4 separate regions of the Homo sapiens genome follow, and all the other regions are linked to region 3. The links are contacts of gene promoters, found by promoter capture Hi-C in blood cells and fetal thymus (Javierre and others, 2016). All regions are on one chromosome and are shown on one strand. Each heading gives the region's core, a stretch centred on a gene start or on the middle of the fragment in contact. The rest is flanking DNA. Distances are from core to core; before and after follow the strand shown. Region 1 holds the start of TFAP2A-AS2 (TFAP2A antisense RNA 2). Region 2 overlaps MIR5689HG (MIR5689 host gene). Region 3 holds the start of BLOC1S5 (biogenesis of lysosomal organelles complex 1 subunit 5). Region 4 overlaps LOC101928146 (a long non-coding RNA gene).

Evidence for each region. Contacts are between HindIII fragments. The CHiCAGO score rates a contact against its expected background, and 5 or more counts as called.
Region 1: a contact is called between a fragment that was not itself captured here and the fragment with the promoter of BLOC1S5 in region 3, in 3 of 17 cell types (naive CD4 T cells, total CD4 T cells and naive CD8 T cells). The highest score is 8.4, in naive CD4 T cells.
Region 2: a contact is called between a fragment that was not itself captured here and the fragment with the promoter of BLOC1S5 in region 3, in 1 of 17 cell types (M0 macrophages). The highest score is 6.1, in M0 macrophages.
Region 4: a contact is called between a fragment that was not itself captured here and the fragment with the promoter of BLOC1S5 in region 3, in 1 of 17 cell types (M2 macrophages). The highest score is 5.4, in M2 macrophages.

What each region holds. Positions count from the first base shown.
Region 1 is chr6:10,404,323-10,411,051 of GRCh38, reverse strand. TFAP2A (transcription factor AP-2 alpha) reads left to right here. Exons shown (of 7, transcript NM_001372066.1): 2 at 717-1,151; 3 at 4,208-4,259; 4 at 6,313-6,544. TFAP2A-AS2 (TFAP2A antisense RNA 2) reads right to left here and starts at 6,550. Exons shown (of 1, transcript NR_145448.1): 1 at 3,125-6,550. RefSeq lists enhancers at 6,269-6,378, 6,189-6,729, 6,602-6,729 and a silencer at 6,509-6,729. The HindIII fragment of the contact is 5,708 bases long and covers 2,626-6,729 here.
Region 2 is chr6:10,442,440-10,448,338 of GRCh38, reverse strand. All of the region lies in intron 1 of MIR5689HG (MIR5689 host gene), which reads right to left. Among named protein-coding and RNA genes, the nearest start is that of MIR5689, 5.7 kb to the right of the region's middle. The HindIII fragment of the contact is 2,000 bases long and covers 1,759-3,758 here.
Region 3 is chr6:8,061,382-8,067,874 of GRCh38, reverse strand. BLOC1S5 (biogenesis of lysosomal organelles complex 1 subunit 5) reads left to right here and starts at 3,486. Exons shown (of 5, transcript NM_201280.3): 1 at 3,486-3,610; 2 at 5,259-5,341. The coding sequence starts at 3,499. BLOC1S5-TXNDC5 (BLOC1S5-TXNDC5 readthrough (NMD candidate)) reads left to right here and starts at 3,461. Exons shown (of 13, transcript NR_037616.1): 1 at 3,461-3,610; 2 at 5,259-5,341. It overlaps EEF1E1-BLOC1S5 (EEF1E1-BLOC1S5 readthrough (NMD candidate)), which reads left to right. Exons shown (of 7, transcript NR_037618.1): 4 at 5,259-5,341. RefSeq lists enhancers at 1,903-2,052, 2,063-2,162, 3,853-4,042, 3,652-4,278. The HindIII fragment of the contact is 8,031 bases long and covers 2,369-6,493 here.
Region 4 is chr6:10,508,080-10,514,480 of GRCh38, reverse strand. It overlaps LOC101928146 (a long non-coding RNA gene), which reads left to right. Exons shown (of 3, transcript XR_001743961.2): 2 at 3,841-4,138; 3 at 5,178-5,821. It also overlaps the pseudogene LOC100422564. Among named protein-coding and RNA genes, the nearest start is that of GCNT2, 10 kb to the left of the region's middle. The HindIII fragment of the contact is 514 bases long and covers 3,252-3,765 here.

The sequences.
Region 1 (6,729 bases), core at 4,230-6,729, 2.3 Mb before region 3:
GGGGGCCACAGCCCCGGGGTGCACCTCTCTCTTTTAAACCCAATAAGGCTGAATCTTTCTATTTTAAACCTTGACTTGACGTCCCCCTTTCCCTATCCAAACCATAAATCGACTCTGTCGAGAAAAAGGCTCCTAACAGAGGAAGCGAAAAAGACAGACCCCGATCCTGCAGTTAAAACCTTCTTTAAGCTGGTAATTTAAACGTGTGTTTTTGTTACAGCCCCTCTGCGAAATATGTTTCTATTTAAGTAGTCATGAAACGGTAACAGTCTTTGAACGTTTATGATTTTTTTCTCTCCAAATAAATGGAAGAGAATAAACAATAACGCAGTGGCAGACAGGTTCAAATCGGGGGAAAAGAAAAGGCCGCTTCTGCTGTTTAGTATTTAGGAGGAATTTTAATTTTGCTTAAGAGAGATTTCACGCTGCAGTTTAATGGGCTGTGTTCCAGGAGACCCTTTTCTATCTTTTCCTCTCTTTGAAAGAAACCCCTAAATAGTCTCTTGTGCCCCCTCCATATACAGTTTCTCTGCGTTGTTCGGTCTGTTTCACTTGAGGGTATTTCCTGAAAAGAACTTAGAGCTGATTTTTTCCCGGCGGCCAGCCAACGGGAACGGGCGATTTCCCACGCAGACTTGTCAAGTGGATTTTGTGTGGATAGTTGTAGCTCGACGCCTGATTCCTTGTTCTTTACCTTTCCTCTCGCTCTCTTCTAGGACCGTCACGACGGCACCAGCAACGGGACGGCACGGTTGCCCCAGCTGGGCACTGTAGGTCAATCTCCCTACACGAGCGCCCCGCCGCTGTCCCACACCCCCAATGCCGACTTCCAGCCCCCATACTTCCCCCCACCCTACCAGCCTATCTACCCCCAGTCGCAAGATCCTTACTCCCACGTCAACGACCCCTACAGCCTGAACCCCCTGCACGCCCAGCCGCAGCCGCAGCACCCAGGCTGGCCCGGCCAGAGGCAGAGCCAGGAGTCTGGGCTCCTGCACACGCACCGGGGGCTGCCTCACCAGCTGTCGGGCCTGGATCCTCGCAGGGACTACAGGCGGCACGAGGACCTCCTGCACGGCCCACACGCGCTCAGCTCAGGACTCGGAGACCTCTCGATCCACTCCTTACCTCACGCCATCGAGGAGGTCCCGGTAAGAGGCCGCGCAACCAGCGCGGGAGGGAACACAGCCCCCTACTTACCTACCCCAGAAAGGATACCTGGAACATACAGTCGGTGGGCCCGGGTTCTCCCTAGTATTTCCTTATAAAAACATTTTATTCGGAGGCGGAGAGTGAGGGACGTTTTGAGGAACCACACAAAGTAGTTGCGAGTTCTACCCCAGAACAATGGTTTCTGGAGCTCCCTCAAACAATGCCTGCATTACCATTTCCACCAACACAGATAAATCAGACGAATGTCACCATTAACAATATCTTCCTCTCGACGACAGTAAACTGTCTCAATTGCTAAAAGATCTACTTCCATCGCTGAGTCTGGCGTGGAGATTTCTCCCTGTCCTGGGAATGATGTTAAATGCAACCAAAAGAGCTCATTAAATGTCCTCAAAATGTAAAAGGAAGTGTAAAAGACACACTAAGATCATTTTAACCGGATTTTATAAGCACAAGTGAAACCTAAAAGTTATGTGTACACCCTATCCTGATTAAAGAAAAACTAAGTAGCAAATCCAAGCAGAGGGACATTAAAATGCAGCCTTCTTCTTACTAGGGGTGCTAAGTGGTGACCTCATAAATCATTAGCTAGGTTCCCAACGCCTATCAGAACCTGCTACACTCCATATTAAATTAAATGTTTCGAGACTATTGGGTAATACATTATTTGAGTTCTAATTTAGTTATCAATAAATGCAGTTTAAAATGATTTCTAAATAAGCATGGCATTAGCACATTTACTATTTACAATGCAAACCAGGCTATTGATAATTTGAAAATACTTTCTGGAATTAAACTTAAACCAGTACCTCTGCTTCAATTCTATATATTTATGGTTTCCTCACAACCCTCCTGAAATGGAATTAGAGCAAGCCAATAATTTTATTAAAGCTGTAAAGGCTTCTGTTAAAGCTGCTTTTCTTTGGAGAGGAAATGTATCTGGATGTGATTTTTACTAAAATGCTATTTCAAATTACTGCATCAAATATTGCAGCAGTATGTCCGTTGACAGTTTAATGATTACTACATTAGATTGTAAGGAAAATGGTCAGATGAACTTACCTCCTTGCTTGGTGAATTTAAAACATTATTTAAGTTCCGTAGGAAAATAGAAAATTTATTACATCTCTCATTTGGCCCAGTTAGTCACTGAAATTTGTTGGTTATGTTTAGCAGCCCTTGCATGGAAGGCAGGAAAGTGGGCACTTGATCCAGTATAAGGTTTAGTGAGCACTGTATGTCTGTATATGTGTGTTCATACTTACATGTTTTTAGAAACTGATACTTAACAGTGCATTTTTTTGGAAGTGAGAGGAGCACTAATTTATATAAGAGCAATTTAAACATGAACTGGGAGTTATGATTATTTTAGTTCCCTTTCCCAAAGCACTCTGAATCTTTTCCTTGCTTGTTCTTTGAAAATATTTGAATTGCAAAATAATGTTGCAAGCTTTTGGAACTACTGTGAATGAGAATTGCTCTACTTTGCAAAAATTTCAAGGTGAATTCTTAACACCTGTATACTCACTCTTTGTGGCAAAATTGGTCAGTAGGAGAAACTAACTAAAAGATTAAACAAAAACAAGGAAACCCAGTTGCTGTTTTTCCCTCTCCCTCCCCCATCTTTTAAGAAAAAAATTCTTTCAAAGGAATTTGGGTCAAGAAAAAGGTTGTTTTCAATTTTTTCCCATTGCTGCAACAGTTAACCTTTAGTAAGTATAACTGCTAAATATTTAAGAAAATCAAATCGATGGTGAAAATTATTTAATCATTAATATCTCAGTGGGGTTTTAAACTTAACAGTCTTCCCTGTATGGACAAGGTCTAGAAATAACACAAATAAAAGTATTATGCCACACTACATTTACTTTATGGGTTTAGGGTGCATGCATAAAGGGATCATATTTCCCCATATAGTTAAAACACAAGAACTGCAGCAGTAGTCATTTCTGAACATTTCTCAATTTAATTATACTTAAATCCAGAAGCACTTTAGGCAAGTTACAAATGAGAGCATTGAGTATAATAAAACCTGTAATAAAGCAACTTAGTACCATCCACCCGGAATCATTGCGATCAGGCACAATTAACAGGAGCATAAATCCAAGACAGAATGGAAAATGTTCGAATCAGTATTATTGTTGGACAAAGACTAGAGAAGGAAGCAATAGTTTTTTAAATGGTAATGCCTGTGTTTGGTAATGATTGCAAAATCTTCTATCTCAGCAGCCCTGGTGCTAATTTGTAAACACAGCCAGACATTATATTGCCTGTCAGTTTCTGCATTAGAAAACATGACTTCATTTTACTTTCTAATCACGTTTTGACTCTAGTGCGCACACGTATACCCATCCATCTGTAAAAAAAAAAAAAAAAAAGAAAAGAAAAAGAAAAACACCCCACACTAACAACAAACCTGCTGTTGGACAACAGGAAAGCAAGCTCAAAGGTTTTTTGGTTTTGGTCATTTTCATATTCCTATCATACCCAGGCTTAGGCAGTAGTCTTTCTAAAAATTTATGTGGAGTTTTCCATAAAGGTGTGTGTGTTTGCTCTTTATTATACTACCTAAACCTTTTCTTTTCCAACACTCTCCTGTTACTCCCGCCCCTGTCATTTCTATTGTGTTTCCCTGGCTTTCGCTGCCTGAACACTGGAATTGCTAAAGTCAGAAGCCGCTGAGGCGCCAATCTAAAGCTAGGTACATTTCTAAATGTTGAACTGACTGAGAATGATTAGGTGCTCCAACACTTGATTTAATTTCCAAAGAAAGTTTTATTCCCCATCTCCACCCCTTTTAAACATGGATTATTTGCTGGAGGAGGAGAAATTGGCCATGGGTGTGCAGTGAAACCTCTTGAGTTGCAAAGCCCCAAATTCCAATAAGCCAAGATGAGATGTTTATATATAAATGTCATTATACGGGAGGGGGAATTTTGATTCTACACCTTCCCCTCCTCCCATCTTGCAGGGAATATTCATTTCCTTTTGTTTTGATGATACACTTACATCCATGTGTATCCTTTTGTTGCAGCATGTAGAAGACCCGGGTATTAACATCCCAGATCAAACTGTAATTAAGAAAGGTAAGCCATTTCCTTCTGCATTCCAAGCATGTCCTTACAGGCAGAGTGCTATTTAAAAGAACTTGCAGAGATGTGTTTATTTTTTCCAAATAGGATTTCCTAAAGGCTCAGAATTAGCAAATAGATAGGCACAGAACAGCAATGCTTAAATAATCAGCCTTCAGTATGTTGGTAATGCCAACAGGCTAGCTTTGTTCTGACTCATGATTTGACCATTTAATTTAGTTTAATGATATTTGGACAAACACACAAAATGTACAGTAGTTGAACTGATTTGGAAGTGGCATTTCAATTTTGAAACAGTTTGATAGTTTAATCCATTGCCTGGATGAAGGTTAAGAAGTGTATAATGCTAAAATAGTACAAATAATTTAACATTAATGTAAGAACAGATGATAAGAAGCACTCTTTAGTAGAGGAAAAAAACATTCATGTTCTTCAATTTAGTTTCTTGTTAGCTGTTTAAGGGTCTTAGAACTTTGTGAATTAGGTTAACAAAATTTTAGCTTTTGGTTAAAATTAGTATCTTGAAGATGGGAGGAATATTAGCATACTTGTTCAGAGGAGAAATTGTTAGAAAAGTGTCAAGTGATTTGCATGGATTTGTAATCTGTATTGTGTTTAGTGAGTAGAAATAAAGTTTACTGAATTAAATGCTATTCACTCTTGGTAGCAGCTTTTTTTTTGGTTATGGTGGCAATGTTACATTTCAGGATTCTAGGCACCACCAGAGGACGATGCTATATAAAACTGTTCTCATTTCTAACCCCAATCAGTATATTGTTAGCTAGTTTAAAGTTTCATTTTTGCATCTGTGAAGTCTTTGTCACGTCAAATTAGATGTGCAAGGGATAAATCTTAAGAGATGCTCTTTCCAAGTCGACATGATAATTGGCTCTTTTATTAGTAATCTCTCAAGAGTTCGTTTAACTCCTATTGTCTCTATTAGCCTCCCCAGAGCTATTAATGTCACAAGTGATCTATCCAAAACCTAGAGCCCCCCACCTCCCTATACCTCTAGCATATCCCCATTAAAGAACGCATAAGGAACACTGTGATGAGATTGTGTGCATATGATGTCTCCAAATGGAATTTTAAAATACAATGCATACTGTACTTAAATGGTTGTGAATGCATCTGAATTACACTGGTGCTGAGAAACGTAATGCATTAGTATACTTTCTGCAGGTCTTCTATTTTTTTTTTTTCTAACAGTGGTGAGTCCAGCAATAAAGAGCTTATGGTTTTAACTAGGAAGTATATATACCCACTTTCCCAATAAAGGCGCTTTAGCAGAGGACTGTTAAGTATTTACTTAACAAAAGGGCACATTGCTAGTATTCCACTGTAGGCCTGTTCTTCCCTCCCCACTCCGCAGTTCAAAACTGGCCTTGGAATGGATCTCCAAAACTGAGACGTTTTCAAAATTGAACATAGGAAAGGGCCTATTTATCAAAAAGACGGGACGTGTGGTGTGGACAACAAAATCCACCACTTCCCAGCGTGGTGCCTCAATTAAAACGCTCGTTTACAGGGTGCTTTAGCCATCTAAATTGTCGGCTGATTTTAATAATGGGTCTTTGAAGCAGTTTTTCCCCGACACTAAAACCCCACCCAGCAAAACCCCTGAAGTACAAGTAACTTGCTCTCGGTTTGCAAATGTAATTCCCTCCCCTGCACCCTGAACCCGTGGTCCTGGACCTCATCTGGGGCCCACTCCGCTCGGATGCTCAGCGCCTCAGGGGTCACCAATTTCACCACCCATCTCTAGAGAGCACCCTTGACGGCGAAGGGGAAAGGGTCAAGGCAGAAACGCAGGCCAGGCTGGCTGGGGGAGGGCAGGGCCGCCTCCCGGCCGCCGGGTGAGGTAGGGAAGGGCTCGAGCCCGAGGAAGGGAAGTAGCAGAGCCACAGAATTTCAGAGCCGGACGGAAAAGCGGGGACTGTGGCCCAAAGCCTGGGATCCGGCCCTGGCCGGGATGAGGGCCGGGGTCGGGCAGGATTTGGGGGTGATCCACGACGCCCAACACGCGGCCTCCCCTCTGTCTCCGCAGGCCCCGTGTCCCTGTCCAAGTCCAACAGCAATGCCGTCTCCGCCATCCCTATTAACAAGGACAACCTCTTCGGCGGCGTGGTGAACCCCAACGAAGTCTTCTGTTCAGTTCCGGGTCGCCTCTCGCTCCTCAGCTCCACCTCGAAGTACAAGGTCACGGTGGCGGAAGTGCAGCGGCGGCTCTCACCACCCGAGTGTCTCAACGCGTCGCTGCTGGGCGGAGTGCTCCGGAGGTGAGGCCCGGCACGGCCCCGCCCGCCCCGCCCCGCGGCCGGGGGAACCACTGCGCTTGCGCCGGGGCGGTGGCGGCGACGCAAACAGGCCTCGCGCCGCGGCCCTCCCTACGCGGGAAAGGAAAGGGGGCGGGGAGAAGAGCGTAGAGCCAAGTGGGCGGGATCTGGGGGCGGGGGAGCGGGCG
Region 2 (5,899 bases), core at 1,509-4,008, 2.4 Mb before region 3:
GTAAACATATTGGTTTAAATGAAAATTCACTGCTTGGGAAACAAAAATAGGATTGCAATGAAAACACATTGCATTAAGTATTTTACATAATTCCCACAAACAGATGCTAGGAAATAATGTTTTGGTTTCAGTGGCAGTTCATTGAATTCACTGGTATGCTATTTGTATCTCTGAATATGTATGAGTTTTGATGAAAATGCATTGTGGAAAGAAATCAGTCAAGCTCTTCCTATACAGTCCAGCTATAATGTTCTTGTAAATTTTATGTTGCTATACCATCTTTTGTCTTGTTTATGAATACATATTCTTTTTAATGTTCCATATTGCTTAGTGTTGCAGTAAATATAACCATTTTGTTTGTGTCTTGAGTTTCTCATGTAGTGGATACATACACTGAACATTAAAGAATATAAATGTGACTAAAATCTGTTATATTAACTAGAAGATGCCTTTATTTTTTATCTCAAAATATTATTATTTCTGCATTGACTTTTATATAGAAAGAGACATTCTAAAAATTATTGGACTAAATCTAGAATCAATTTTGAAATCATAATACCATACACTAAACAGATGGAAATATCGGCAATATTTGATCAAATACTTGGTGTAATTACAGTAAAGCAATTTACAGAACTGATGAGAACAGAATTACAATTTGTATCAAATTAATGCCCTGAAACAAAACTACATTAATTGTTATATCATGTTAGTGATCTCTGTTGCTACCCAAAGACTAAATGGTCGGGGGAGGAAAAGGGGCAAGAAATTTAATTTCATTTAAATTGTGACAGTGTTCCTATACAGTATTTTATTCACTTGAATGGGTCAAAAGAATACCGCATGCTCAGCCAATTATCTGCTATGCAAAATTATTCTTAATTCTATGTGAGAATTGTAGACAGTGGGTTGAGGAGGTGGAAGTAAAAGCTGCATAGATGCAAATAGTTAAAGGTCGTTATCTACGTACCAAATCTAACTCGAGAAGAAAATCTTAAGATACTGTTTTATAGCTGAATGTGCTTCACCCACAGAGGAGCTCAGCGTTATCCCTGGGCCTTGGAAATAAGGGTGCAATGGACTGAATGCTTATCTCCCCTCCAAATTCATACACTGGTATTCTAATCCCCAAGGTGATGGTATTAGCAGATGGGGCCTTTGGGAGGTGACTAGGACATGAGGGTGGAGCACTTGTGAGTGGGATTAGTGCCCTTACAGAGAGACTGCAGAGAGCTCCCTTGCCCCTTCCACCATGTGAGGACACAGGGAGAAGATGGCTGTCTGTGAACTGGGAAACAGGCCCTCATCAGACACTGAGTCAGCTGAGGTATTGATCTTGGACTTCCCAGCCTTCAGAACTGTGAGAAATAAATTTCTGTTTAAAAGACACCCAGTTTCAGGTATTTTTGCCATAGTAGCCCAAACAGACTAACAGTGGATATAATTTTGTTGAGCCAGTTATAAAATCCAAGTCCAAGTCAAAACTGCAGGCTGATATTAGCTGGGCATGGTGGTGCATGCCTGTAGTTCCAGCTACTCCAGAGGCGGAGGTGGGAGGATGGCTTGGGCCCCAGAGGTCAAGGCTGCTGTGAGTGGTGATCACACCAATGCACACCAGCCTGGGGGACAGAGCAAGACCCTGTCTGAAAAACACAAAAATACAAAAAACTTGCAGGCTCCAAAACTACCTGAACTTCAACCTACCTTCTTTCAATACAATGCCCAGAACATAGTCTCTCTCAATGACCCAGTCAAGCTTAAAAAAAAAAAAAAGAAAAAAAAAGCATCACCACTTCTCTCTTCAAAATCTAGCCTTGATATATATTTTGAGGGGATGCATTCTGAAGTGTGTCAGCATGATACATCGTATCATCTGCAACTTACTTTCAAATGGCTTAGGAAAAAAATATGGTATCTGCTGTCTATTTATCTACCTACCTATCTATCAAGAGATAAGCAAACATGATGAAATAATAACAGTTGTTAAATCCATGTGAGGGGTATTTGGCTGTTTGTGTGCTATTTTTCAGCTTTTCTGATTGAGCTTACTTTTTTAAAAAGGCAGGAAAAAGTATGTGGCCTTGACTGTGAAGACAGACAAGAAACAGCTGAGCCCCTCTTGTTTCTCGATACATCAAAAATGCGGGACACATGGTCAGTGCTAATACATAGTCCTTAAACTTAAGAAGTTCCTAAAAATTAACTTTGCTTGTGGAGTGTCAAACCGGAAATCAGTTAAAACAAAGAAAAATTTGAGATTTTTCTGGGGAAAAAAATTTCATCTTGATTTTCTGAGTTACCCCAGCCCACTGTCCCTGAATACGCCTCTTGTCCTGGTAAAGGGTGTCACCCTTGTCCCCCAGGATCTCTGTTTTTCTTTTGAGACAGAGTTTCACTCTTGTCTCCCGGCTAGAGAGCAATGGCACGATCTTGGCTCACTGAAACCTCTGCCTCCCAGGTTCAAGCGATTCTCCTGCCTCAGCCTCCCAAGTAGCTGGGATTACAGGCATGCACCACCATGCCTGGCTAACTTTTTGTATTTTTAGTAGAGATGGGGTTTCACCATATTGAGCAGGCTGGTCTTGAACTCCTGACCTCATGATCCACCCATCTTGGCCTCCCAAAGTGCTGGGATTACAGGTGTGAGCCACTGCGCCCGGCCCAGGATCTCTTATACAGTAGAATTCTACTCTGTTATTAAAGAGGTAAGCATAAGCTATTCCAAAACCAAGAAAGAACACAACCCTAAGTGCCCAGAATGGTGAACAATTAAAGAGCTTTAACTGCTTGCCAGAGTCTTTATGTTACTTACATAGAAACCTATAAAAGAGGCCGGGTGTGGTGGCTCATGCCTGTAATCCCAGCACTTTGGGAGGCCGAGGTGGGTGGATCACGAGGTCAGGAGTTCGAGACCAGCCTGGTCAATATGGTGAAACCCCATCTCTACTAAAAATACAAAAGTTAGCCAGGCATGGTGGCGCACACTTGTAGTCCCAGCTACTCAGGTGGCTGAGTCACGAGAATCTCTTGAACCTGGGAAGTGGAGGTTGCAGTGAGCCAAGTTCATGCTACTGCACTCCAGCCTGGGCAATGGAGTGAGATTGTCAAAAAAAAGAACAGGCCAAGGAAAATAAATGGAGACAGGGTCTGCATGTACTACAGGTGAAAGAAATTTTCAGAAACTACAAAAAAGATTAGCTGGGCCCGTAGTCCCAGTTACTCGGGACGCTGAGGCAGAAGAATCACTTGAACCCGAGAGGCGGAGGTGGCAGTGAACCGAGATGGCGCCACTGCACTCCAGCCTGGGCGACAGGGCGAGACTCCGTCTCAAAAACAAAAACAGAAACAAAAACCTATAAAAGAGAATAGCCCTGTAAGTTTTTGAGAAGTAATGCATTTTGGGGAAGAGTCATGCTCGTTTCCTCCAACCTCTGAGAAAAACACAATTGTTCTAGATACTTCTCCAGTGTTAATTCAAAGATGGCAGTGGTAATACAAAAGTGGCTGAGTCACGTGTCAAGTCAAAAAGCTAGTCTTAGATATGACTTTAAATTTCTCTTTTTCATCCCTTTGGTCCTTTAGAAACATTCACTGGAATGAGTATTAAAGTCTGATAATTTCAGACACTTGTTTATTCTTTGGCCTAAGTATATACCCTCACGGAGTTTTCTGTAATATTCATGTCAGAATCATTCCTTTATAGTTTCTGCAGTCATTGGTTGAGGAATGTCTTATTCATTTCATTCATTCAAAAAGCTTTTATTGAAGCTCTATGATATGCCAGTGTTTGGGAAACGAATGCAATATAAGAGCCTTCCATTACTGACAGATTTTTCTCCTTGCAACTTCTCTGCCTTCCCACTGCCCCAACTTCATGGGAATACCTCCTACAGAAATATGTAAGTTATAGCAGAAGCTCTTTGTTAGAACTCCTAATTCTAATTCGAGATCAATTTTTTTCAACATTTTATTATAAAACCTTTTAAGCATAGCTCAGAATTGAAGAAACTGTACGGTGAACACTCATATGCTCACCAGCTAGATTCAACAATAAACATTCTTCTGTACTTCATTTACTATTTATCCATTTATCCAGCTGTTTATCCACCCACCAATCTATCTTGTCTTTTTTTTTTTTTTTTCTGAGATGGAGTCTCACTCTGTTGCCCAGGCTGGAGTGCAGTGGCATGATCTCGGCTCACTGCAACCTCTGCCTCCCGGGCTCAAGTGACTCTCCTGCCTCAGCCTTTTGAGTAGCTGGGATTACAGGTGTGCACCACCATGCCCGGCTAATTTTTGTATTTTTAGTAGAGACGGGGTCTCATCATGTTGGCCAGCCTGGTATTGAACTTCTGACCTCAGGTGATCCACCCGCCTTGGCCTCCCAAAGCATCTTGTCTTTTTAATGCATTTCTAAGTATGTTGCAGTCAGCAATACACTTCTCCCCATATGTTCCAACATGCATATCTTTTATTAGAGTTCAATGTTGGTTGATTTCTTCTTCTTTTGAGGTAAAATTTAAATACAAAAAATGCACAGTTTATAAGTGTGCCATTCAGCAAGTTGCAAGGAAGGCCATGTATACAAGCAAGGCAAACCCCTGGTGAGATCCAGTACCTTAAGACTGCCCTGAAAGCTCCCCTGCACAGCTGGTCCCCAACCCCATGGCCCAACTCCCAAAGGTAACCCTTTCTCTGGATTCCCCTGCCCCCACCTTAGATTAGTCCATAGATTAGTTTTGCTTGTTCTAGGATGATAAATATATAAACAGTATGTGCTTTCTTGTGTAAGGCTTCTTCCATTCAGTACAACATTTTTGGAATTCATCATGATGTTGTATGTATCAATGGTTCCTCCCCCCACCCCCCCTTTTTTTTTGAGACAGAGTCACCCAGGCTGGAGTGCAGTGGCACAATCTCAGCTCACTGCAACCTCTGCCTCCTGGATTCAAGCTGATTCTCCTGCCTCAGCCTTTCGAGTAGCTGGGATTGGAGGTGCGTGCCACCACACCTGACTATTTTTGTATTTTTAGTAGAGATGGGGTTTCACCATGTTGGCCAGGCTGGTCTCGAACTCTTGACCCCAGGTGATCCACCCACCTCGGCCTCCCAATGTGCTGGGATTACAGGTGTGAGCCACCGCGCCCAGCCGGTTCCTCCCTTTTTTATTGTGTAGTATTTCATTGTCTGAATTTACCACAGTTAGTTTATTCATTCTCCTATTGGTTGTTTTCAGCTTTCAGTTATTTATGAATAAAGCTATGGACATTTTTGAACAAGCCTCTTTGAGGACATATGCTTTTATTTCTCCCGGGTGAGTAACCTAGGTGTGGAATTGCCAGGTCATAATGTAGGTGCAGTCAGCCTTCCCTATCCGTGGGTTCCACATTCATGGACTCAGCAAATATTCATGAATTCAATAAAAAATCAAGGGGTGGGAGGAAAGGATGATCATGTCTGTATGGAATATGTATAGACTTTTTTCTTGTTATTATTTCCTAAACTGTATACAGTATAATTATGCTCACTATCTGAGTGATGGGATCAATTGAACTCCAAACCTCAGCATCATGCAATACACTTATATAACAAACCTGCATATGTACCACCTGAATCTAAAATGAAAGTGGAAATTATTTTTTTAAATACAGTATAACAACTGTTTACATAGTCTTCACCTTGTACTAGGTATTATAAGTAATCTAGAGATGATTTAAAGTATACAGGAGGATGTGTGTGGGTTATATGCAAGTACTACCCTGCTTTATATCAGATTCCTGAGCATCTGTGATTTTGGTACTTGCAGGGAGACCTGGAACCAGTCCCCTGCAGATACTGATGGACAACTGTATATGTTTAGTTTTAAAAGAAATTGTGGGCTGGGCATGGTGGCTCACGT
Region 3 (6,493 bases), core at 2,237-4,736:
CACCGCAACCTCCGCCTCCCGGGTTCAAGCGATTCTCCTGCCTCAGCCTCCCAAGTAGCTGGGATTACAGGCATGTGCCACCATGCCCAGCTAATTTTGTATTTTTAGTAGAGACGGGGTTTCTCCATGTTGGTCAGGCTGGTCTCGAACTCCCGACCTCAGGCGATCCGCCCGTCTCAGCCTCCCAAAGTGCTGGGATTACAGGCATGAGCCACCACGCCCAGCAAGACCACCTACTCTTTTCTCCTCCTTTGCTTTAATCAGTTTTTGCATTTTTTAATTTTTTAACCCATTTCTAAAATAGGTTAGACAAACAAAAATAAGAAATAATGTCAATAAAAGATGTTGCAGAGGAAATCTCATGGAGTGGATGTGATAGAACACAAAATAAACTTAGGAGTCCCTCTATCTCCCACCCTGTGCCAATTATGGTTCCCCTTGATGGGCTTATACTAAGGAATAAATTATAATTTTATTCTTGGTATACATGTAATAACTCATTTATTTTTTAATTTTCAAAAGATTCAACATGGGATTACAGCAAAAAATTTCCCCCAAAGTCAGAACTTTACTTCTACTAAATTGACAATATCTCCATGATTTAGATGTCTTGAGTCTCAAAAAGCACAGTAATTGGAAAAATCCCTTTACAATCCCATGCTTATATTTGTATATGATATTGATTCTCCAATCTTGTATAGAGGTTATGATGTGAGTACAGCTATTCTTAAAAACATAAAGGTACTTAATGTATGATTTCATTTCTATAATATTTTTGAGGTGAAAAAGTTTTTAGAAATAGAGGACAGATGATAGGTTGCCAGAAGTCAGGGTGGGGACAGGGAGGAAGGTAAATGTGGTTATAAACAGGAACCTTAACGAGATCCTTATGGCATCAGAACTGGTCAGTATGCTGACTGTGATGATAGATGCATAAATCTACATGTAATAAAATTGCATAAACTTAAACATATACACACACAATGAATACAAGGAAAACTGGTGAAATCTGAATAACATTGGTGGATTGTATCAATGTCAATATCCTGGTTGTAACATTAGCATTTGCAAAATGTTACCACTGGGGGAAACTAGGCAAAGTGTAAAAGGAAACTCTATTATTTCTTACAACTGCATGAGAAGCTACAAATACCTCAATAAAAATTTCATTTAAAAATACAGGGAAAGTCTTGTCAATCCAGAGACAATAAGAGACAATACAAGACCTTCAGGGAAAGGATAAGAGTCCCATTTTAGCCTCAAAACTCTTGAGATTTCATGGGTCAAAGACCAAGGACACACTCATAGCAGCTGAATGTGCCAGGCGAAATGGCACTGCCAATGTTGCTTCTCAGTCTCCTAGCTGTCTGAGCCGCAGTGTAAAGATTTATATAAAAGCGGAGAGAGAACAGAGGCATATGCTGGACCTCACCATCCCAGAGAACAATACAACTTAATAGTGTATAATCAAATGGCTAGAACACATATTCACAGGCTACAAGCAACAGACTTGCAGAAAAGTAATTGTGTACTTATTCAGTGTTGGCTCCCCTGCAGGCTGCATGAGGAAAGGAAAAGGCTGCATTAGTCTTGTTCACCACTGTGTCTTAGCTCCTAGCACTATGCTGGGCACGTAGCAGCTGCTCAATAACGTATTTGTTAAATGTTTTTGAATGAAAAAATGAAAAGCCCATGTGGCCTGTTAAAGTTAATATGGCTTCTCTCTCCCTTCTCTCCAAATCTCCCTTCCCCACTCTCTCTTCACCCACCACCTATGCTTAAACACATACACAGAGACACAGAGGCAGTTGTTTCTGCCACATACAAGTCAGGCAGTCATTTAACCTCTCTGTGCCTCAGCCTCCTCGTCTGTAAATGAGGACATTAATAATAACTACTTCAAAGGCCGGCCATGAGGATTAAATGAATGCAAATTTGTAGACCACTTACAGTATTACCTGGCATGTAGCAAGTGCCATGTAAGTGTTTGTTAAACTGCAGTGCTATCCGAAGTTAGCACAGACTTCAGAGGTCAAAGCATGGTCCTCCTCAAGACTCCCCTTCAGACACCTGCCACAAGCTTTGGGGTTCCCAGGCCACCTGCACTTCTGACCAGCTGTCTCTGTCATATGCCCAGGGCCTGAGCACTGTCTGCTAGGGTGCCTCAGTTCTCACCCACGCAGCTTCTCTCTACACATGATGTTTCATTGCTATTCGCTTTACTCCCTCAGGTTTCACAGAATGACTCATAGAACTCAAGAAAGTGCTTTCCTTGCTATTACAGTTTTATTATAAAGGACACATATCAGGACCAGCCAAATGAAGAGATGTATAGGGCGAGATGTGGGAGATTTCCCAAATAGAAGCTTACGTGTCCTCAGGAACGCTTCCCCCTCCTGACACTTTGATGAATGATTATCGACCAGTAAGCTCACCTGAGCTTCCACATCCAGAGTACTCACTGGGGTTCCATTATGTAGGCATAGTTGGTTAAATCACTGGCCACATGGCTGAACTCAGTCTCCAGCCCCAATCTGCTCCCCAGAGGTGGGCCTGCTTATGTGACTCAAAGCCTAAGCCCTCATGGTTGGCCGGCCCTTCTGGTGTGGCCAGCCTCCATTCTGAAATCATCTTGGGCCCTCCATGAGCCATCTCATTAGCATAAACTCAGGTGTATTTCCAGAGGCCCACCATGAATAACAAAGACACTTCTATCACTTGGGAAATTCTAAGGATTGAGGGTACCTCCCAGGAACCAGAGTCAAAGTCCAGTCAAATTCTTTATTATACAACGTGAGTTTACTGACTTGAACAGAAAGAGGGAGCAAGAGAAGCATTCTAGGAAACAGGTGTCTAAAAAGAAAGGCAGGAATAGTCAGCCACACTCATGGCATAGTAGGGAAACAGCCCCCAGCTAATTGGCTTTGCTATACAGTAGTCCCCCCTTATCTGAGGTTTCACTTTCTGTGGTTTCATTACCCGCAGGACGGTACAATAAGATATTTTGGGAGAGAGACTACATTCACATAACTTTTATTAAATTGTTCTAATTGTTCATCTCTTACTGTGCCTAATTTATAAACTTTATCATATGTATATACAGGAAAAAACATAGTATATACATGGTTCAGTACTATATGCAGTTTCAGGAATCTACTGGGGGTCTTGGAATGTATTCTCAGCAGATATGGGAGGACAACTGTACTGGAATGCACCAGCTTTGAGCCAAATAACCAGGGCTCTGAGTTTAGCTCCAAAGTTCAAGCACCTTCCTATTCTAGCAGCATCCGCCCTGATCCAGCATGGCGGCAAGAGCTTCTGCCAGTTCACAGCCTGACTACACGGCAGGCGCCTTTCCGGAACCGCCCGCTGGGTAGATTAAATTTCTCCGGCGCCCTGTAATGACACACACACAAAAAAAACCCGGGCGCGCCTTGTAAGAGGGCGGCCGGGTTTGCGCAGGCGCAGCGTGGCCGCGGGTGGGCGGAACTGGTCGGGATGAGTGGCGGAGGGACAGAGACCCCTGTGGGTTGTGAGGCCGCCCCGGGCGGTGGCAGCAAGAAGAGGGACTCCCTGGGGACTGCGGGCTCAGCGCACCTCATTATCAAGGGTACGGAGTGTCAGGGCTATAGTTCCTGGTGGATCCCAGCACAGCCTCATCTCCCAGGCGGCGCCCTCTGACCCGGGCCGACCCCCGGGTCCCGGGCTGGCGCGCGTGCGTTTGTGCGGGTGGGGGAGTCGTGGTCGGTCCCCGCCTTTTTCCCCGCGCCAAATGCGTCCCACCACAACCAACCAGCCCAACTCTTCGTGTTTCCCCGCTTTCCTCTGTCGCAGCCTGAGCCATCAGGCCCGCCCCCGTCCATTCCGCAAGCTCAGGACCCCTGGGCGCAGAGCCTTTGGGCAGCCTCGCCACCGACGTGTAGTGGAAAGGGCATTGGACCTGGGAGGCGGGAGGCAGTCGCTTAGGAGTTGAGTGACTTCGGGTCACTGGCTTTACTCACTCTCCTACCCGATCTGTTCCTGGTCGTGCGAGGAGTAAGTGAGATACACTTACGAAGGCGCTCTATAGCACTGTAAAGAACCATTCACGTTCAGAAATGTCCATGTGTTCTGTGTGCTTTGAGCTGGGAGAAGGTTACAACCTAGATTCTCACAGAATCTGCTTTAGGTTTGACTCCTAAAGCTCACAACGCTGTTTGCTGCGTGAAAGTCTTTGACAGTTGAGTTGTAGTGCTTTATATATACCAGATATAAAGTGCTTATATACAGTGCTTGTATTATTTTTTCTACTTGACATGCTTAAGAAGATATGTACTAATAAAATTCATTAAAATAGAGAATTGAAACCTGCCCATCGTATGTCTGCAAAAATGAAAAATTTGGGGAACATTGCCAGTGAATGAATATGAATAATACATTGTCTTAGATTTAATTTCTCAAGGAATTTTGAGACTTACATTTTAAACTACATAGTTGTAACTAAGAAGAATAATAAACTGACTCACCAAAAGACTTAAATTCAGACCTTTTCTTAATGACTTTTTCAGACTTATGAAAAAGAGACTTACAATGAACATTCACCACCCACCTTAATAAATAAATTACTAAAAGCCCCACTGTGTCTTGCTCTAATTGCACTAGTTCCCCTCCCTCGTCTCAAGGTAGCCACTATCCAGAATTTGGTGTTTATTATTCTTGTGCATTTCTTTATAGTTTTGTTGCTTCTGTCTATATCCCAAAAGGAAATATTTTGAATATTTTAAAGTTTTATGTAAATTGCTTTAATCCTTCTGAAACTTGCTTTTTTATTATATTTATTATAAAATACGTATTATTTTTTATATTTATGTTGATAAGTGTAACTCTGATGTATTTATTTTTACTTGGTGATTGATAGAATTCCATTGTATGAGTATGGTTAAGGTGTTTTGCGTTTTTTCTTTTGATATTACACCTATGCTGTAATAAATATGTATAAATGGCCTTACTCATTTGTGCAAGAGTTTTCCAGGGTACATACCTAGGCATGAAAATGCTAGGTATACATGTCTGCAACTTTATTGAATACTGAAAGATTGTTCTCAAAAGTAGTTGTATCAGTGTACACATCCACTGGCAGTGGATGAGATTTCTTCTTAGTCCATAGTCTAAACTGGATTTTAACCTTCATCTCTTAGTGGGGAAGGGAGAGAGTAAAACAAGCTAGAGATTATGCCATTTAGCATGGATTAACCCTGAATTTCATTTTATCTTTATAGATCTTGGAGAAATTCATTCAAGGCTTTTGGATCACAGACCAGTTATTCAAGGTGAAACTCGTTATTTTGTAAAAGAATTTGAAGTGAGTATTTAAACTTATTTTATAAAAGTACTTCCCTAATTGTTAGTGTGTTATTATACAGAAGAGAAATTCCCCAGTTTTAAAATCGGATTTTAGTTCATGTGTTCATAAAATATACAAAGTAAAAATGATGAAGACGTAAAAATTGTTGTTTTTAATGGGATAAGTTCCATACTAAACAGCAGGATACATAAGTTCTGGTGCCTGCTCTAGGGTATTTAATGTCTGTTGATCTGAGGTTTTTTTAATCTATAAAATGAGATATAGTGGGGGAAAAAAAGGGATTTTAGAGATTGATGGGTCTGAGTTTTTCAGACTCATTTTCTGTAATTTTTTCCTCAATTGAGACATCACCAATTATGCAAGCAGTCAAATTAAAACTTAAGGATTATCCTTGGCTATTTCCTTTCTTACAGGTTCCACATTCAGTGACCCCATCTTTTAGACGTTACCTAGATGTTTACCTCATAAATGTCGATTCTTTCTGACAGGTTTGCCTGCTTTATCAACGAAGTCAAATCCAGTTTTCACCCTGCTGCCAGAGGAATCTAACATTATTTCACTTTTTAAAACCTTTGATACTATTTCTGTCCACAGGATAAAGTCCAAGCATTGTTCTGTGACCTGGCTCCTGCTTTTCTAGCATAACCACCTGCTACTCTACCTTACATACTATGTTCCAGCGACAGTGATGCATGAACATGCCATCTTGTTTCCTATTACTGTAGTTTTGTACATGTATAATTGGTTTATTGTGCTTTAAGCAGTAACTTCTCAAACTGCTGTTGGGATGGTAAATGGTGTTGCACAAACAATTTTGTGATTCTGTGTAAGTTTCAGATTTTTGCAAATGATACTGACCAGTCAGGATGTGCAAACATGCCAAAAGGAGAGTACCTTTTAATAAACCCAGTTGAGGGCTTATTAAAGATAGAGGCCCAGAGCTGTTGCATTAGATAAGCATTTCTGGGTGCAAAAGATGCTGTGACTCATAAACTGCATCATACTTCCCAGGATCTGTGCATTTTAGAATATTGTCTGGGACCTAGGAATTAACTAGGTACATAGCCAAGTTAATTATACATGTTAAGTAACATGTGTAATTGGTTCAGTTAACATGTTAATTAGCGTGTGTAATTGGTTTAGTTAACA
Region 4 (6,401 bases), core at 2,259-4,758, 2.4 Mb before region 3:
AGAAGCCACAGAGACGTTTGTGAAGCAGCTCAGTAGCTTTCTTACAGCGTCTTTGAAAGTGACTGGGGCCTTCTGATCCACATGAACACAGTAGATGTTTTGGGGAGTGTAGATGGCCCTCAAGAGTCTTTCAAATGTATCAGTCTTTGCGGATGACCATGACATAGGCCAAAGGGAACTCGGCTTCGTCTTTGGACACAGGTTCCATTATGCAGTGATTTCGGATCAAGTATCGCTGGCAGGTTATTATTTCTCAATGGCGTCACTGGTATATTTTCATCCAAGAACATTTTCTTGCCTGTCACAATCATGCCACACACTTCTGCAAGGACTGAAGAGTTTGAGATCTTCCCCCATGGAAGATATTTTTGCGGGACCTAATAGTTACTATACAGGAATAAAAGAGTTATGGACGTGGCCATAAGCCCTAGGACCAACCCAAATGCCTCTACCTTTATTTTTCCTATGGTCTTTTCTGGATTCATCATTCACCTGATTTTATGCCATTGCTGAAGTCAGTCTGCAGGTCCCTGCCCAGACTTGAGAAATGTGCTCTAGCAACTTATTTGCAGCAAGAAGTGCAATATGACCATTTACTTAAAAGAAGGAGGATCAACCACAAGTCGGTAGCTCTTCTATTTAAAAAATCAGGTGACTCTTTGAACATGAGCCAGTGGGGCCAGCTGACCACTTCACAAAAGCCAGGCACAGTTGGGCACCTCTGTCTAGGTCAACCACAAATTAAGACCCTAGCAAATCGGCCACAGCTGCCAGCTCAGGGTGTTTTTCCCATGTGGAGTACAGGTGGAATGTGTGTTCATTTGGCACCTCTTTTTCCCATGCAGAGCCACCATCACCATCACTGATGTCACCTTTGAATGCAAGGGACACTATATTTCTTCAACTTCAGGCAATCACAGTTGTCCTGAAGTAGGTCACCATTTACGTGGACAGCACCCAGAACTCCTCGATAGTGGGGTCTCTTTACTTAAAAATAAAGATCAAGAATTTATAGTATTTCAGGATTGAAAGGAATCTTGCAGATTATTCTCACCAATTGATTCAGTTACAAATAAAGAACACTGACAATGACCCATAACGACTATTCTATCACATTTTGTCTCCATTTTCTCACTGATGGCCTGAGAGGTAAGCATTGACATTATATCCACTTTGCACATGAAGAAATTACGCCCAAAGATATGCTAGCTTGCCTGATATCCAGTAATGAGTTAATGGCAGCCTGGGGTTTTCAAACCTAACTCTTCTTCTTCTTATCTTAGAGTTGGGGTCTGGGTCTGTGCCCAGGCTGGAGTGCAATCACTGCCACATCAACTTCCTGGACTCAACCCATCCTCCTGCCTCAGTCTCCTGAGTAGCTGGGACTACAGGTGCCAGCCACATTGCTTGCCTAATTAAACATAAGATTTTGTTTCTTTTTTTTTGAGACAGAGTTTCACTCTTGTTGCTCAGGCTGAAGTGCAATGGTGCGATCTCAGCTCACTGCAACCTCTGCTTCCCAGGTTCAAGCAATTCTCCTGCCTCAGCCTCCCAAGTAGCTGGGATTACATGCACCCACCACCACGCCCAGATAATTTTTGTATTTTTAGTAGAGAAGTGGTTTCACCATGTTGGCCAGGCTGGTCTTGAACTCCTGACCTCAGGTGATCCACCCGCCTAGGCCTCCCAAAGTGCTGGGATTACAGGAGTGAGCCACCTCACCCAGCCTTAAAAAAATTTTTTTTGGGGCCGGGCGAGGTGGCTCATGCCTGTAATCCCAGCACTTTGGGAGGCCGAGGCAGGCAGATCACCTGAGATTGGGAGTTCGATACCAGCCTGACCAACATGGAGAAACACCATCTCTACCAAAAATACAAAATTAGCTGGGCATGATGGCACATGCCTGTAATCCCAGCTACTAGGGAGGCTGAGGCAGGAGAATCGCTTGAACTCGGGAGGTGGAAGTTGCAGTGAGCCAAGATCACACCATTGCACTCCAGCCTGGGCAACAAGAGTGAAACTCCGTCTCAAAAAAAATAAAATAAAATAAAAAAATAAAAATCGTTTTTTTGTAGAGACGGGGTATCACTATGTTGCCCAGGCTGGTCTTGAACCCCTGGGCTCAAGGGACCCTCCTTCCTTGACCCCCCAAAGGGATTATAGGCATGAGCCACTGTGCCTAGCCTCAAGCTTATCTCTTCTCACTGCATAGGCCATCTACCTGGAATATTCTCTCCCCCTGCCTTGTCTTGAGTTCCTACTCATCTTTCAGGTCCCTATGTGACACTGCTTCCCTGGTGACCCTTCCTTGCTCTTCCAAGTCTGGGTTAGAAGCCCTTCACCTGCCCTAATAAAACCTTGTACTCCTACAATTGCTTGTTTGTTTGCTCTACCACTAGTCCATGGAGGACTATTTATTTTTAAAACAAAAAGTTAATATTTTATTTTTAAATGTATGATTTACAGGTGGTAATTATACGTATTTATGGGATGCAGCATGATGTTCCAATACATGTATACATTGTGTAATGATCAAATCATGGTAATTAGCATATCCATCACCTTAGACATTTATTGTTTGTTATCAGAACATTCAAAAACTGCTCTTCCAGGTATTTTGAAATATACAATGCATTATTATTAACTGTAATCCTCCTCCTATGCAGTAGAACTCCAGAGCTTATTCTTCCTCTCTATCTATAGCTTGGCACCTGTTGATCCATCTCTCATCACCCCCCTGCTCCTTTCCCTTCCCATTCTCTGGTAACCACTGTTCTATTCTCTACTTCTATGTGGATTCCACATGAGTGAGATCATGCAATATTTGTCTCTCTGTGCCTGGCTTATTTCACTCAACATAATGTCCCATGGAGAACTATTTCGGTCTGCTGGTCACTGCACTTTCAACACCTTGCTTATGGTAGGCACTCACCGAATTAAGTTTAGCCACCCTTCTTTCCTCTATACCAGAGATCAGCAAAACCACAGCTGGGGGGGTCCAGTCTGGCTCGCTGCATGTTTTTAGACAATCTCTCAGCTAGAATGGTTTTATATTTTAAAATGGTTGGGAGAAAATCCAAAGAAGAAAAATGTTTTGTGACACATGAAAATTATATGAAATTCAAATTTCGGTGTCCATAAATACAATTTTATTGGAACACAGCCGTCCTCATTTGTTTACACAGGGCCTATGGCTGCTTTCACGTTACAATGGCAGGGCTAAGTTGTTGCCACATCTGACCACCGAAGCTTAAAATGTTTTCCATCTGGCCTTTACCAGAGAAGGTTTGCTGACCCTCTCCTCTGTATCTACGGATGTCCCTTGTATACCACTGTGCTTGCACTACATCAAGACAGCGATTGTGGACTTGATACCATTTTACAACTTTTTGCTTTATTTTCAAGATTTCCTCGTGAATGCCAGAATGACACGATATTTGGTAGCAAAGCATGAGCTTCAAAGAGAGGTTTGCGTGGGTCTAGATCCTGGCTTTGCTAGTTCCTAGTTGTGTGACGTTGGGCAAATCACTTTTCCTATCTGTCTTAATTTCTTTGTCAGTAAAATAAAGATAATACCAGTAGGGCTGTTTTGTGAGTTGATGTGTTAATAAGTAGAATGCACTCTGAGCAGTATTCACGCATAGTGAACACTCTGAAATGCTAGCTATTCTCACTGCACACGATCGCTTCTAGGGGCTACCTGTACCGCCAGTGAACTGGAAACTCACCCCACTGCACTTTGCCTGACACCGAGTGGCCCAAGCTTTGGCGAGAGGCAGTGCTGCCACACAGTGGCTCTATATGGGGTGGCTTGGCACACTCTTCCTTTTTTTTTTTTAGGTGATTGCAAATCTATGGATGAGACCAAGGGAGAATTTTCACGCCATCATAGCATTTTATTCCTCACCTGACTGGGAGCAGCTCGAAGGGAAGGACATGTCTCCAAAGACATGAGGAGTATTCAACGTGGCATTCGAGGCGCAAGGAAAAACCTGCCTATCCCAAGATCTCAGCCCCATCAGCCAGCCAAGGGATCCACAATGACCCTTATGAAGTTTCATAAGGAAGCTAATTGCTTAAATGAGATTTGAGTCAAGAAGGATGACCTAGCAATAACCTCTATATATCTCATTATGCCGTAAGTAACCAATAGAGGTTCTAGAAAATGCCATCCAATAGAGGTTCTGGAAAAATGGGACAAGAGACAGGTTAGATTAGATGGAAGAAAAGGCCTTCCATCTAAGCAAGGCCTGGCATGTGGAATGCTAGTGGGGGCCCTCTGGACTGTGCTGGCAGGGCAGGTAAAGCAGCCAGGAGAGAATGTGAAAGTGGAAAGATGCCCCGGGGTGACGTGCCATCACTTAGATTTTATTTATTTATTTAGAGACGAAGTCTCCCTCTGTCACCCAGGCTGGAGTGCAGTGGCGCGATCTTGGCTCACTGCAACTTCTGCCTCCCAGGCTCAAGCGATTTTCTTGCCTCAGCCTCCCAAGTAGCTGGGACTACAGGTGTGTGCCACCATGCATAGCTAATTTTTGCACTTTTAGTAGAGACAGGGTTTCACCATGTTGGCCAGGCTGGTCTCGAACTTCTGACCTCAGGAGATCTGCCCAACTCAGCCTCCCAAAATGATGGGATTACAGGCGTGAGCCACTGCACCCAACCAGGTTATTTTCAGAATTAGAGATGAATCTTAAAAATCAAAATTTCCCCAGTGTCCCAGACACATTCAAAGCAAAATTACATAGAGGTTCGGCATCCCTAGTCTGAAAATCTGAGATCTGAAATGCTCCAAAATCCAAAACTTTTTGAGAGTTAATGTGGCACCATCAGTGGAAAATTCCACACCTGACTTCATGTGATGGGTCTCAGTCGAACAGCAGCCAAAACTTTGCTTCTTGGACACAATTATTTAAAATAGTGTATAAAATTATCTCCAGGCTATGTGCATAAGGTGTATATGAAATATAAATGAATTTCATGTTCAGACTTGGGTCCCATCCCCAAGACATCTCATTATGTATATGCAAATTTTCCAACCTAGAAAAAACTTGAAATTCAGAACACTTCTGGTCCCAAGCGTTTTGGATATGGGATACTCAACCTGTAGTTTCATTTTAATTATTTTGATGTAACTTAACTGAGCATCAAATTTTAAATTTTTTTTTTTTAATTAGAAAACTTAAATGGCTACATAAGAGGACAGTCCAGTGACAGACATGGAAAGAGGCTTAGAGGTCATCTCATTCATCACACCATTTTACAGAGGAAAGCAAAATGCCATCCAGAGAAGGAAAGTCACAAAGCCATCTAACCCCAGACCTGGGAGTAGCAGCTGATCACAGCGGGTCGGACACAAGAAGCTGCTTCCAAAAATCTTTCCTTCCATTTGTCCTACAGAGAAGACATCAGAAAACAAAATTTTATAAGCATGTCTCTAGCTCTAACTCACTATTCAACTAAAGGACAAATTAAATAGGGAATGAGATAACCTTAACTTCATGAGATTTGTTCTTATATGCAGTTTTCTACCCTGAGAAACCAATCTATGCTAAAGATAATATTTGTGCTTTTCAATGAGGCTGGTAAAATATTTGCACTTTGAAGCTCAGAGCGATAACATTTATTCATTCGGGTGAAACTTATCAGGATTAGGTAAATATAATCGAAGCAAAACAAAAATGATTTGGGAAACTTTGTGACCAAAACCAACAGGCGTATTCAGTACTCCTTTGAAGGTCACCTAATTCTAATAACATTTATATTTATAAATGTCCTCTAAGTCTTTTATCTTCTGCAAATAAATTATTTCTCACAATTACAGGTTAGTCCAATACATCAGCCTATTTTCAGAGTCCAGAGTTCTAACCATTACACGATGGAACCAGCCTATTTTCAAGCACATACTCAGTGTCTCCAGGATGAGGACACATTGTGGGGCTTTTCACAACTTCTCTCTCCCATCACCTGCCCCTCTCCTTCCATATTTAATATATTGTTGCATTTCTGTCAAATTAGCTGGAAGAGTAGTGTTTAATCAGGTGTACACACTGCCACAGTAACCTGGAAACTTCAAATTCTACCCCTAATCACTAATGTTGAAGACTTGCTAAAACAGGTTTTTTTGTTTGTTTGTTTTGCTTTTTGAGACGGAGTCTAGCTCTGTTGCCCAGGCTGGAGTGCTGTGGTGCAATTATCAGCTCACTGCAACCTCTGCCTCCTGGGTTCAAACAATTCTCCTGCCTCAGCCTCCCGAGTAGTTGGGATTACAGACATGTGCCACGATGCCCAGCTAATTGCTTGTATTTTTAGTAGAGATGGGGTTTCATCATGTTGGCCAGGCTGGTCTCAAACTCCTGACCTCAAGTGATCCTCCTGCCTCGGCCTCCCAAAGCGCTGGG